3 separate regions of the Homo sapiens genome follow, and all the other regions are linked to region 1. Evidence: promoter capture Hi-C in 16 types of primary human blood cells and fetal thymus (Javierre and others, 2016). All regions are on one chromosome and are shown on one strand. Each heading gives the region's core, a stretch centred on a gene start or on the middle of the fragment in contact. The rest is flanking DNA. Distances are from core to core; before and after follow the strand shown.

Region 1 (4,054 bases), core at 1,398-3,897:
AAGATGTAATTAGTTAGGTTAAGATGAAGTCACGCTGGAGTAGGGTGGACATCTAATCCAATATGGCTGGTGTCCTTATAGAAAGGGGAAATTTGGACACAGGGAACACACAGGAGAATGCCATGTGAAGATGAAGGCAGAGCTCAGAGTGACGCTTCTATAATGCCAAGAACACCAAAGACTGCCAGCAAACCACCATTAGCTAGAAGAGAGGCCTGGTACAGATCCTCCCTCACAGCCCTCAGAGGAAACCACGCTGTCAACCCCTTCATCTCAGGCATCTCAACTCCAGAACTGTGAGATAACACATTTTTGTTAAGTCATCTAATCTGTGCTACTCTGTTATGGCAAAGTTAGCCCTAGCAAACTAATGCAGCCTCCACTTTCCCACCTGAAAAAGGGGCATGTAGATGGATGGTTTCTTTCCAGCTCTAAGCTTTTATGACATATTATTTCCTGATCTAAGATTCTATGTCTCTTATTTCAGTAAGTCCTAGGAACATGGATTAATATTTAATTTCATGCATGTTTTAAACATTCCTTTTTCATTATGTTTAAATTCTATGAAATCAACACGTTCATGCCTGAAAAGCCTCAGTTCTGAGCTGCACTTACTTGTTATATAAGACGATGTCTGGCCTCCACACGAGGTCACTGGGGATCCTGATGGAGTCTAGGCCATCGTACTGATCTCGGTCCCACGTGAGATAGGCATCGTGCCAGATTTGGCGGATCCACAAATAAGCAGTCAGAATTTGGTTTCTTTCATCCTACACAATGAATCCAGATGTCGCTTTACCTAGCAGACACTTGAAATGTTTTCCACTGATAGGACACTTGTTCTTCACAATAGGAATTTCACAAACACTCATCAAATTTCAATAAGTAAAGTGAGAGCTTTATTCTTTATTTATTCTATCCCCTTGATTGACTGCCAAGATCATATTTTTTTTCCTCCTAGATTTAGTGTTCAGAATGTAAAGTGGACAAATATTTTAGTATTGATATCTTTGCATAGATCAACTGCCTATATTTCCTGAAAATTGATCAATGAATGATGTACTTGAAAGCAAAAGTCAGGAAATAACAATGTGCAGAAGGAAAATCTTTCAAGTTTCATAACATTGTGTAATTAAACATAGATAAGCACTAATAAGCTATGCCATCTTAAAACACTACCTTTTTTAAAAAATTGAGATTGGCCGGGCGCGGTGGCTCATGCCTGTAATCCCAGCACTTTGGGAGGCCGAGGCGGGCGAATCATGAGGTCAGGAGATTGAGACCATCCTGACTAACACGGTAAAACCCTGTCTCTACTAAAAATACAAAAAAAAAATTAGCCGGGTGTGGTGGCGGGTGCCTGTAGTCTCAGCTACTCAGGAGGCTGAGGCAGGAGAATGGTGTGAACCCAGGAGGCAGAGCTTACAGTGAGCGGAGATCATGCCACTGCACTCCAGCCTGGGTGACAGCAAGACTCCGTCTCAAAAAAAAAATTAAGATCAAATTCACATTAAAACTCACCATTTTAATCATTTTCGAAGGGAACAATGCACCGGCTTCCAATATATTCACAACGTTGTGCAACCATCACCACTGCCTAATTCAAGATCATTTCTTCCCCCCGCAAAGAAACGCCGTAATCATTAAGAACTCACTGGCCGTTTTCCCCGTCCTCCCCACAGACCCCGGCAACCTCTATGCCGTTTTCTGTCTCTACGGATTTACCTCTTTTGGACATTTTATATAAATGGCTGCATACAGTATGTAACCCCATCTTTCTTTAGATTATCTAAGACTGTTACAGTTAATGACCAGGATTAGGTAACGTTTCTTGAAATTAATTAGTTTTGTAGAAAGCTTCCTTTTCCCGACATTCTCTTCTCCCACCAGCTTGCTTAAGGAGCTATCATTCCCTCTCAAATTCCCAGTTAAGACATTCTCTTCAGAAAGCATGGTTGTTTATCCTCTAAGAATCATTCCACAGAGTCAGCACCATGTGTTACTCACCATATCCTTAATCTGAGAGAGCGTAATCTGCAGGGTCACATTCAGGACTTTATCTGTATCTTCCACTGGACGAAGAGCATTAGAATAATCTTCAAAAAGGTCATTAAACAACTTCTGAGCATATTTTCCATCTGCCGTCTCTGCAGCTACTCAACAAGAGGGATCTGGATTAACATTCAGAGTGTTGTGTGTATTTCAAGACAAACAACACAAGACTGAGGTCTAAAATGGGGGATGGCCCAACACTGGCGAGGGACAAGCTTTGGGTGGATGGATGAGTTGTTTTTCTGGCATGCCCTACCAAGATCAGAGTCAGTAGGAAGCACAGAACACTTCCATGCGGTTGAATCATCTGTTTTGTCTTCCCTGTCCTGCCCCACCTCCCACCAAAGCAATAGCCCCAGATGAGACAAGATAGGTTACGTGTCACCAGCCTCTCACCTCTCAGTCTGGAAGCAGCAAAGTAGATCCAGCAAAAGGAGATGCAGGAATGGGACCAGTTCATCTTTTTCCTGAGCCTCTATAATAAAGTCTCAGTCAGGCAGCGTGGTCTTCCACTTCCCCCTATGAATACAAAGGATCTGGGCACAAGGAGCCCACACCGCTGCAGCCTTATGGCGGGAGAGCTCAGGCTTGCATTGCATGCAGGACCGAGATCCTGAGATCCAGGCCTGCCCTCCCTCCCCTCCGGTAATTTGAGACTGGCAGCTCCAGTGGCTGAGAAGCCGGGAACCCAGGGTGTGTTAGGTCCAACAGTGCTGTTGTGGGGGGCCATCTCAGTTGAGGGTCCCTAGCCACCCTCAGCAGAAACAACCAGACAGAAAAGGAGGTAGATGCAGGCAACAGGGGTATGCCTGACACCCCAGAGACTCCATCTAAGCAGAATGGGAGATTTCTACACCCACCATGAGCAGAGTCAGCCTGAGTCCAGGGACTAAGGGAAGCCTAAAAGACTGAGCCATGGGACGGCTGTCCAGAAAGACTCTACGTGCTTTTAGCAGCATTTGAAGAGGGAAAGAGACACGGTTCTATGATCTCCAGAATATATTGGCATTTTGGTTTTTTCTCTGCCTCAGCTTCTGATCCCTCCTGCAGCTGTCCCACTGGGCATGGATCTTGCATAGTAAATGTTTGTGAGTATATATGTGAGGGGGTGTGCTGGATGGGCGGATAATCACTCGCTTAAGAAGCAGCAACACTGTGAGTTGGATTTGGACTTGACCACCTGGGTTTGACTGCCAGCCAAACCCTGACGAGCTCTATTATTCTGTAAAAGTCACCTAACCTCTCTGAGCCTTCCAGAACTACAGACTGGGGAAAATAATATTTTCTCTCTCTAGAGCTACTGAGATAACTGTATGTGAAAGCACTTTCTAAATATCAGTAATTATCATCTTTGATCAGCTTTGCATACCCAGAATTTCTATACTCACCAAGTCACCCAGGATTTACCAGCTCGAAAAAAAAAAAGAAAAACTGGTTCAAAGGCTGACCAAATCAGCATGAGAATAATAACCAATGGTGATATTGCTAATGATGACACCCTTTGCATTTGAATGCTACTTCATATAAAGTTTCAGTCATTTCTCATATGTGATATAATTTTACTCCTATAAAAAAATGTCAATTTTCAATTGCTGCTTAGTCTGGAAACTCATGTCTGTCTCTCCTCTTGCCTGGGGAAACTGCTTTGGAAAACCATATTAAGATAATTTGGTTGCCTGGAATTGGAGCGAGGAAATTGGATAGCTCTGTTTCATCAGGTTACAGCCGCCTGATGAGTCACCCCATCCCTCTTCGGGAATGTATCCTCTGAGTGGAACAGACACTCAAGCCATCGGCAAAGTGTTTCTTAATTGCCTATCCCATTGTGTTGATTGTGAAGACATTATTTTTCTGACGCCCCTAGTCTGACTCATTCATCAAATGACACAATTCCGGGTGCCCACGCTCAGTCCTCCTTCAGCAAACCATCCGCTCCAGAATCTCAGAGGCAGAAGGTAATTTTGAAATTGAGTTTAATGCCTCACTTCTATATGAGGAAACT
Region 2 (4,217 bases), core at 1,718-4,217, 280 kb after region 1:
ATATGCAAAGTGCTTAAAACAGCACCTGGTGTGCATGTGTGTGTACATACACATAAGCCACTTCATTACTATGAGGACGAGGGCAATGAGGTTGATAATGATACATGGCTTGATGTATGCTTACTCATTATCAGGCAAGGTAGGTATCAAAAAAGTGTTCAATCTAAGGCCAGGCGGGGTGGCTCATGTCTGTAATCCTAGCACTTTGGGAGGCCAAAGCGGGCGGATCACTTGAGGCCAGGAGTTACAGACCAGCCTCACCAACATGACAAAAACCCATCCCTACTAAAAATACAGAAGTTAGCCAGGTGTGGTGTTGAGCACCTGTAATCCCAGCTACTCCAGAGGCTGAGACAAGATAGCGCCACTGCACTCCAGCCTGGGCGACAGAGTGAGGCTCTGTCTCAAAATACATACATACATACATACATAAAAAATGCTCAATCTCTTCTTAAATTCCTAACATAAACTACTTCTAAAGGCATTTAATAGACAACTGATTCTTCCCAAGACTTACAATATGATTTTGCATATAAAAAGCTGAAAGGAAAGCAAAGAAGGTAGATAGCTATTTTTCTGAAATTCATTAACTAATAAATGGTTGCTGCTTTGCATATCAAAAAACATGCATAATCATGGCTAATCATGATGAAAAGGGAGATTTTAAAAGGAAAATAATCAGCGTTTTAAAACGGCCGGGCGGGCGTGGTGGTCACTCCTGTAATCCCAGCACTTTGGGAGGCGGAGGCAGTTGGATTGCTTGAGCTCAGGGGTTTGAGACCAGCCTGGGCAACATGGCGAAACCTCCTCTCTACAAAAAATACAAAAATTAGCCGGGCGTAGTGGCTTTCGCCTCTAGTCCCAGCTACTCTAGGGGACGAGGTGGGAGGATGGCTTGAGCCCAGGAGGCAGACGTTGCAGTGAGCTGAGATAGTGCCACTGCACTCCAGCCTTGGCGATACGGCCAGACCTTGTCTCAAAAAAATAAATAAATAAGATGCAACTATGTAACAGTATTTAGATTTAAAATAAATACTAAAAAAAAAACATGCAACTAGTGATAATATTTAGCTTCTACTGTGTACATACAAGATACTATGCCTACTTTAATATACTTTAATGAAGGAAAAAACATGCCTCTACCATAACTTAAGCCCACTTTTTCTATGAAATACAGTACTTCTATCTCCCCTTCAAATTAACTAAAGTCAACAAGTACACAAACTGGCATTCGTACGTACTGCGTGCTGATTTCAACTGCTTTATTCTTTATTGTTTTACAGGTTAGTCTTTTTTCATTAACTAAATTGTAGCCTCCTTGCAAAAGAGCAGCCATTTATTTCCTATTCTTCCCACCATGTCCACCACTACAGCCCCTCGCTCCTACCCCCCATCCTAGCACGGCACTTAAATAATAAAAGGTCCTGGCAGCGAAACTCAAAACTGTTTATTTCTGACCTTTAGCAGTAAACAATGTTAGAAAGGCAGATGGAACCACGTTTATCAAAACACAGAACACACGATGTTTACATTTCCTAAAGCGCGTCTTTTAGTTAAAATTAAAGGATGAGAGTTAAAACGAGTTACAAAAGACAGCTGGTGTTTGAAAGAAAAACACTGGAAGTAATAAAAACGGAGTGAAAAGGCTGATGTTGGGATTAAAAGAAAACATTTTTTTAATACAGCTGCAAATCAGTCATTGTTTTCTGAGAGGCTAGGTTCATCTCCAGGATTTTCTTCTAGGAGCTCAACCAATGGCCACCTTTACTGAGTTAACCAGTCTCCAGGCAAGCAGCCCTTGCTGATTGGCTCAAAGATGTCGAGTAGAAAAAGCAGCCAATCCTGCCTTCAAGCCAGAACTGTGCCATGGAGACATTACAACCACTGCATGGCGAGAATGTGTACAAACCTGTCCGTGCCACAAATATCAGATCCTAGTTACAAAGACTGCCGCCGAAAGGAAGAGCCTTTGAAGCCAACACTGACACTGACCTGTCATCTACATTCTATTACTCTAGCTCTCTTTCGGAGGGAAAAAAAAAACTATTTTAACCAAAAGCGCATGAGAGATAAACTGTGCCCCCGCTAAGATGACTCACTCTATTGAGGATGAATTTCCAAACGGACGGCTTAGAGAGAGTCCCGATGAGAGAGGGGCTCTAGAAGGGTCCCATTGAGGGACAAAGTTGCAGATGGGGGCAGGGGAGGCGGGACGAGGGCCAAAGACACACAAATGCCGGGGAGGGGAAAGTCTCCCCGCAGTCTCCAAAATCCGAACGTGTGAGTGGCTGTGTGTCTGGACTTGAACTGAGTAAATAAACGGCTCTGCTAGGACTATGTGCTCAGGAAGGTGGCCTGAAGTTCCCAGAAGGCTCCGCCTGGCAAACACCTAAGGCGCCTGGAGGGGCGCAAGGTCAGGTCCCGGCGGGAACAGATCTGGGAGGAAACCTCGGGGGGTCGAGAGGGGTGTGTCTGGGGCCTGGAGGCCCGCCAGGCACTCGGAGGCCAAGGAAGCGGCCGCGGCCCCCGCCTTCGCCCGGCCTCGGGCTGAGCGCCAGGGCCCGCCTCTCGCCGACGCCTCACTTCCCTTCCGTCCGGGCAGCCGGGCCCGCGGGTCAGATCGGAGGCGGCCCGCGCCGGGCCCCACATTCAGGGCTTGGGGGTTCATTCGCCGCGCCGCCCGCCGCTGCTTCAGGCCCTCCGCTTCGGCTCGGAGCCCCGGGACCCCTAACCTCCAGGGCCCTCACCTTGGACCCGCCTCCCTGCCTCCCACCCGCCGCCTTTACCTGCTTCTGGAGCGGGCAGAGGGCGTCGAAGCCGGTGCCGCGTCGTCGAACGCACAACGCGGCGCCGCAGGTCCGCAGCCCTTTCCCGCCGGCGCCACTGCGCTCTCCCGCGCCGCGCAAGGCTAGCAAGCAGCTGCGGCCGCGGGGGAGACACGGCGAGCGCGCCCGGCGGGGAGACACTGCCGCTCTCCGTCCGGCCGGGGAAGAGCAGCCGCGCAGAAGCCCGCCGCGAGAGGGCGGGTGGGCGGCCGGGTGGGGAGGGGTCTCGAGGCGCCGGCAATGGCTGCCACGTCGCCCAGGTGGATCGCCGCCCACCGCCCCCCCCCAAGCCCGCCGGCTGTCCGCCACGACCTCTGCTTCGTCCCCGAGCTCCGCCTCGGCGCGGCGGCCCGGGGGACTTGAGCCCGCGGGCGCTCCCACCTCTCCCGCTCCCGCTCTCCCGTTGGAGAGCAAGCCCTGCCCGGCCGGTTCGGCTGCTTCCGGTCGCCCACCCCCCAAGTCTCGCCCGAGAGCGGGCCGTGGTCCCCACTTTTCTTATCAGGGGGTCCCTGGAGGAGCAAGCCCTTCTTCGAGTGTCGGGTTCTGCTTGGGGGGAAGGCGGGAGCTGTTTGGCGCTGGGGAACATTGCAACAGGCCCGGAATTTTTGCCAAAATAAGCGGCGCGGTAAACCACAGCTGTTTCTAGCCCTCGGCACTCTCCCGAGCCCCAAAAAACAAAACAAACACAAGGTCGGCCTCGCGAGGTGAGGGGAGAAAGGAAAGCAGAGCTGGGACGAGCCCTGACGCGCGCGGGGTCCAGGCTGCAAGTTGGGAGGGACGGCGAGGCGAGCGACCGGCCTCGGCATTGCCTGACTAGGGCCGTGGCCGCTGCGGCGGGCACGGGAACCCGCCTTCTCGCGCGCGGCCCTCCCGCGGGGGGCTTCCGGGCGCGCGGCCTCGGAGCCCCACGGGGAGACAAAGGGGTAGGCGACTGCCACGGGGTGGAGGGAGGCTGCCCAGCCCCATCGGCCCTGCCAGCGTGCGGTCTGAGCTCGGGGAATGTGTGCGCCTTAGCCGGTGGAACCGCAGCCGCTGGCCTTTGCCCCCAGTTCGAGCTTGAGTTTTCGGATGCCAAGAAAAAGCAAAGACGTGCTCTTCCCTCTTGCGACCGCTGTAGTATGAGTCCGTCCCCAAGCCTGCACCATTTTTTTTCTCTCAACTCTGCTTTCCCTGGTTTATTTGTTCTGGGTTCTGATGTGAAATGTTTAGTGTTTTCAGGGTACGCAAATTTTTCACCTTTGCTTTCTGGTTGGTGGTGGTGGTGGTGATGGTAGTGGTGGTGGTTTTGCCTGTTTTTTACTTCCTCCGTCCCCTCCCTTTGCGGTTACTTTTCATTCCACTTGCAGTGGTTTTTCCCAGAATAGAGAAGCGAAATAACCTCATGACAAAGTG
Region 3 (4,212 bases), core at 1,048-3,547, 310 kb after region 1:
AAAGAGTGAAACTCCGTCTCAGAAAAAAAAAAGAAAAAAAAAGTGATACATCCAGGACCAGGATTAGGATGAAGGAGATAAGTCAGCTAACTGGGTTGTAAAATGTAAAAGGCGCCAAAGCACTCAGTAATTAAGTGATAAATAATAATAGTAAAAAATACAAGTAATAAAATAATTTTTTTTCCAACAGAATTTTGCTCTTGTCGCCCAGGCTGGAGTGCAATGGCACGATCTTGGCTCACTGTAACCTCCGTCTCCTGGGTTCAAGCGATTCTCCTGCCTCAGCCTCCCAAGTATCTGGGATTACAGGCCCATGCCACCACGCCCAACTCATTTCTGTACTTTTTTTTTTTTTTTTTTGAGACAGAGTCTCGCTCTGTCGCCCAGGATGGAGTGCAGCGGCACGATCTCGGCTCACTGCAAGCTCTGCCTCCCAGGTTCACACCATTCTCCTGCCTCAGCCTCCCGAGTAGCTGGGACTACAGGCGCCCGCCACCACGCCTGGCTAATTTTTTGTATTTTTAGTAGAAACGGGGTTTCACCATGTTAGCCAAGATGGTCTTGATCTCCTGACCTCGTGATCTGCCCACCTCAGCCTCCCACATTTTTGTACTTTTAATGAAGGCAGGGTTTCACCACGTTGGCCAGGCTGGTCTTCAACTCCTGACCTCAGGTGATCCACTCACCTCGGCCTCCCAAAGTGCTGGGATTACAGCCATTTGCCACCATGCCCAGCCTTAAAATAGTATTTTAATGCTTTTTTTTTTTTTTTTGAGACAGAATTTTGCTGTTGTTGCCCAGGCTGGAGTGCAATGGCATGATTTCAGCTCACCGCAACCTCTGCCTCCCAGGTTCAAGCAATTATCCTGCCTCAGCCTCCCAAGTAGCTGGGATTACATGCATGTGCCCCCACGCCCAGCTAATTTTTTGTATTTTTAGTAGAGATGGGGTTTCTCCATGTTGGTCAGGCTGGTCTCGAACTCCCAACCTCAGGTGATCCGCCCGCCTTGGCCTCCCAAAGTGCTGGGATTACAGGCGTGAGCCACCACGCCTGGCCAGTGCAATATTTTTAAAAGTCAAAATAGGTGCAGCAAAACCCCATAATGAACAAAATATTGAAATGTTAAATAAAAATTAGATCAGTGCTACTAATTTTTTCTTTTGCCTCAGGCTCCAATATGGTTAGGCACAGCACTACTTGGCACTGCCACTGAGCAAAGAGTATGGGCAGACAGAACTGCTTTCAGAACACTCTTTGTATTTTTTTTGAAATATGTTTGGACAGGAATGATGGAGGGAATTGCTAGAAGTCACCTCCACAGCTTCCAGGATTTAGATGGCTGAGCATTGACCTTTCTAGACTTTTTTTTTTAATTTCCCCAATACAGAATCAGAACAAGAAACAGAAACACAAACGCTATCTTCAATAAAACTAGGAAACATTTATCCCCGCAAACTCACAGCACTTGAAAACAAAAAGCAGATGGAGGAATGGTGACTAAATTAGCAGAGCAGAGGAAGGCCAAGCTTTGTTGGAGAAGACCCACAAAAAGCAAGACAACTCAAGGACTGAAGCCTGGTACTTTGGAAGGCAGTAATAGGAACAGGACACTGAAGACAGTGAGGGGTGTCTGAAGACTGAAAAGCAGCCCTAGAAGCCTTCCCTCACTCCCATCAGTCAGGCAGCCACCCCTTCCCCACTCCCACAAGTACTTTTTCTGGGGAGAAACAATCTGAGAAGCTTAGGGAGCAGCAGGAAGGAAGAGAGATCGGGTGAGAATTCCGTGAAAGTCTACAGGCCGGGTATGGTGGCTCACGGCTGTAATCCCAGCAGTTTGGGAGGCCAAGGCAGGCAGATCACTTGAGGTCAGGAGCTCGAGACCAGCCAGGGCAACATAGTAAAACCTTGTCTCTACTAAAAATACAAAAAATTTAGCAGGCATGGTGGCCGGTGCCTGTAATCTCAGCTACTCAGGAGGCTAAGACAGGAGAATTGCTTGAACCCAGGAGGCAAGAGGTTGCAGTCAGCTGAGATCATGCCACTGTACTGCAGCCTGGGCAACAGAGTGAGACTCCATCTCAAAAAAAAAAAAAAAAAGTCTACAGAGTTTCCAGAGTACTTGCTTTGTTTTCTTTTTCTTTTTTTTTTTTTTTAACAAAAAAAGGGCATCCAGGCATAGAGGCCAAGGTGGGCGGATCACAAGGTCAGGAGTTCAACACAAGCCTGACCAACATGGTAAAACCTCGTCTCTACTAAAAATGTCTAATTTTTATTAGACAGGCATGGTGGTGTGCACCTGTAATCCCAGCTACTCAGGAGGCTGAGGCAGGAGAATCGCTTGAACCCAGGAGGCGGAGGTTGCAGTGAGCCAAGATCGTGCCACTGCACTCCAGCCTGGGCGACAGACAAGACTCCATCTCAGAAAAAAAAATAAGGAAAAAAGTCTACATATTGAACTGTGAAATTCCTCAGTCCAGTGCTACAGAGCCAATAGCCAGGCAGAAGATTAGTTTAGTAGTACTTGCTTTTTTTTTTTTTAACAAAAAAAGGTCTACATATTGAACTGTGAGATTCCTCAGTCCAGTGCTACAAAGCCAATAGCCAAGCAGAAAATTAGTTTTTCTCCAGATAAAGTAAATTGCTACAGAGAAAATACCTACACATACTGTCATTTGGGGTACCACACACATACCTGAACACAAAAGCTGGCTGACTACCTAGGGAATCTAAAAATAAGCTCACAAGTTGACAAGACCTGCCCACTCACACAGAGCTTCCAGTCAGCTATGCAGTGGTTCAGTTAAAAATCTGACCAAATATTCAAGGATCATCAGACCTTTGAGGAAAGCTTTCAACAGTAAAGACAGAGACCGAGCAGGGCATGGTGGTTCACATCTGTAATCCCAGCACTTTGGGAAGCCAAGGCAGGTGGATCACTTGAGGTCAAGAGTTTGAGACCAGCCTGGCCAACATGGTGAAACTCTGTCTCTACTAAAAATACAAAAATTAGCTGAGTGTGGTGGCGCACGCCTGTAATCCCAGCTACTCAGAAGGCTAAGGTGGGAGAGTCGCTTGAACCTGGGAGGCAGAAGTTGCAGTGAGCCGAGATCGTGCCACTGCATTCCAGCCTGGGTGACAGAGCGAGACTCCATCTCAAAATAAAATAAATAAATAGTTTTTAAAAAAATGGTGAATGGTTAAATAGACTGTGGTACATCCATACCATGGAATACCCAGCATTAAAAAAGAACAACCTATTGATACATGCAAAAACTTAGGTGGCTTTCTAGGGCATTATGCAGCCTGAAAAAGCCAGTCTCAAAGGGATACATAAGGCCTGATTCCAGTTATGTAATTTCCTCAAAATGAGCTGGATTGCCTGTTTCTGGATTTACATGATTGATAATTCTACAGGGCATTTAGTTTTAGTTTCCGACAACCATAACACAACTTTCATTCTCTCCTGGAGTCCTCCTTTCTTCTTTCTTTTTTTCTTTTTTGAAACAGAGTCTCACTCTGTCACCCAGGTTAGAGTGCAGTGGCACGATCTCAACTCACTGCAACCTCCATCTCTCAGGTTCAAGCAATTCTCCTGCCTCAGCCTCCCAAGTAGCTGGGATTACAGGCAAGCACCACCATGCCCGGCAATTTTTGTATTTTTAGCAGAGACAGGCTTTCACCATGTTGGACAGGCTGGTCTTGAACTCCTGACCTCCAGTGATCTGCCCGCCTCAGCCTCCCAAAATGCAGGGATTACAGGTATGAGTCACTGTGCCTGGCCAATTTTTTAATTTTTTTGAGACAAAGTCTTGCTCTGTTACCCAGGCTGGAGTGCAGTGGCACGATCACAGTTAACTGCAGCCTCAACCTCCTGGGCTAAAGTGATCCTCCCACCTCAACCTTCCAAGCTGGGACTACAGTTGTGTGTCACTACACCTGGCTAAATTTTTTAATTTTTTGTAGAGGTGAGGGTCTCATTAATGTTGTCTAGGCTGGTCTCAAACTCCTGGGATCAAGGAATCCTCCTACCTTGGCCTCCCAAAGTGCTGGGATTACCAGTGTGAGCCACCATGCCTGGCTGGGTTTTACTCATTTTCTAATTGGTTTTGTTTTTGTTTATTTACTGTTGAGTTGAAAATTCTTCGTATAGTCTAGATATGAGTCCTTTATCAGATATGTGATTGGTAAATCACAACAAAAGTTTTTAATTT

Evidence for each region. Contacts are between HindIII fragments. The CHiCAGO score rates a contact against its expected background, and 5 or more counts as called.
Region 2: the fragment with the promoter of N4BP2 here is called in contact with the fragment with the promoter of CHRNA9 in region 1 in 6 of 17 cell types (naive CD8 T cells, naive CD4 T cells, total CD8 T cells and 3 more); the score reaches 7.5 in naive CD8 T cells.
Region 3: a contact is called between a fragment that was not itself captured here and the fragment with the promoter of CHRNA9 in region 1, in 1 of 17 cell types (M1 macrophages). The highest score is 5.8, in M1 macrophages.

What each region holds. Positions count from the first base shown.
Region 1 is chr4:40,333,926-40,337,979 of GRCh38, reverse strand. It overlaps CHRNA9 (cholinergic receptor nicotinic alpha 9 subunit), which reads right to left and starts at 2,647. Exons shown (of 5, transcript NM_017581.4): 1 at 2,449-2,647; 2 at 2,008-2,153; 3 at 616-770. The coding sequence starts at 2,512. The HindIII fragment of the contact is 7,151 bases long and covers 2,270-4,054 here.
Region 2 is chr4:40,055,600-40,059,816 of GRCh38, reverse strand. N4BP2 (NEDD4 binding protein 2) reads right to left here and starts at 2,967. Exons shown (of 18, transcript NM_018177.6): 1 at 2,787-2,967. It also overlaps the pseudogene LOC344967. RefSeq lists enhancers at 1,906-2,005, 2,106-2,155 and silencers at 2,346-2,695, 2,746-3,205, 3,546-3,755. The HindIII fragment of the contact is 12,311 bases long and covers 1-4,217 here.
Region 3 is chr4:40,025,483-40,029,694 of GRCh38, reverse strand. No RefSeq gene overlaps it. Among named protein-coding and RNA genes, the nearest start is that of N4BP2, 29 kb to the left of the region's middle. The HindIII fragment of the contact is 1,108 bases long and covers 1,744-2,851 here.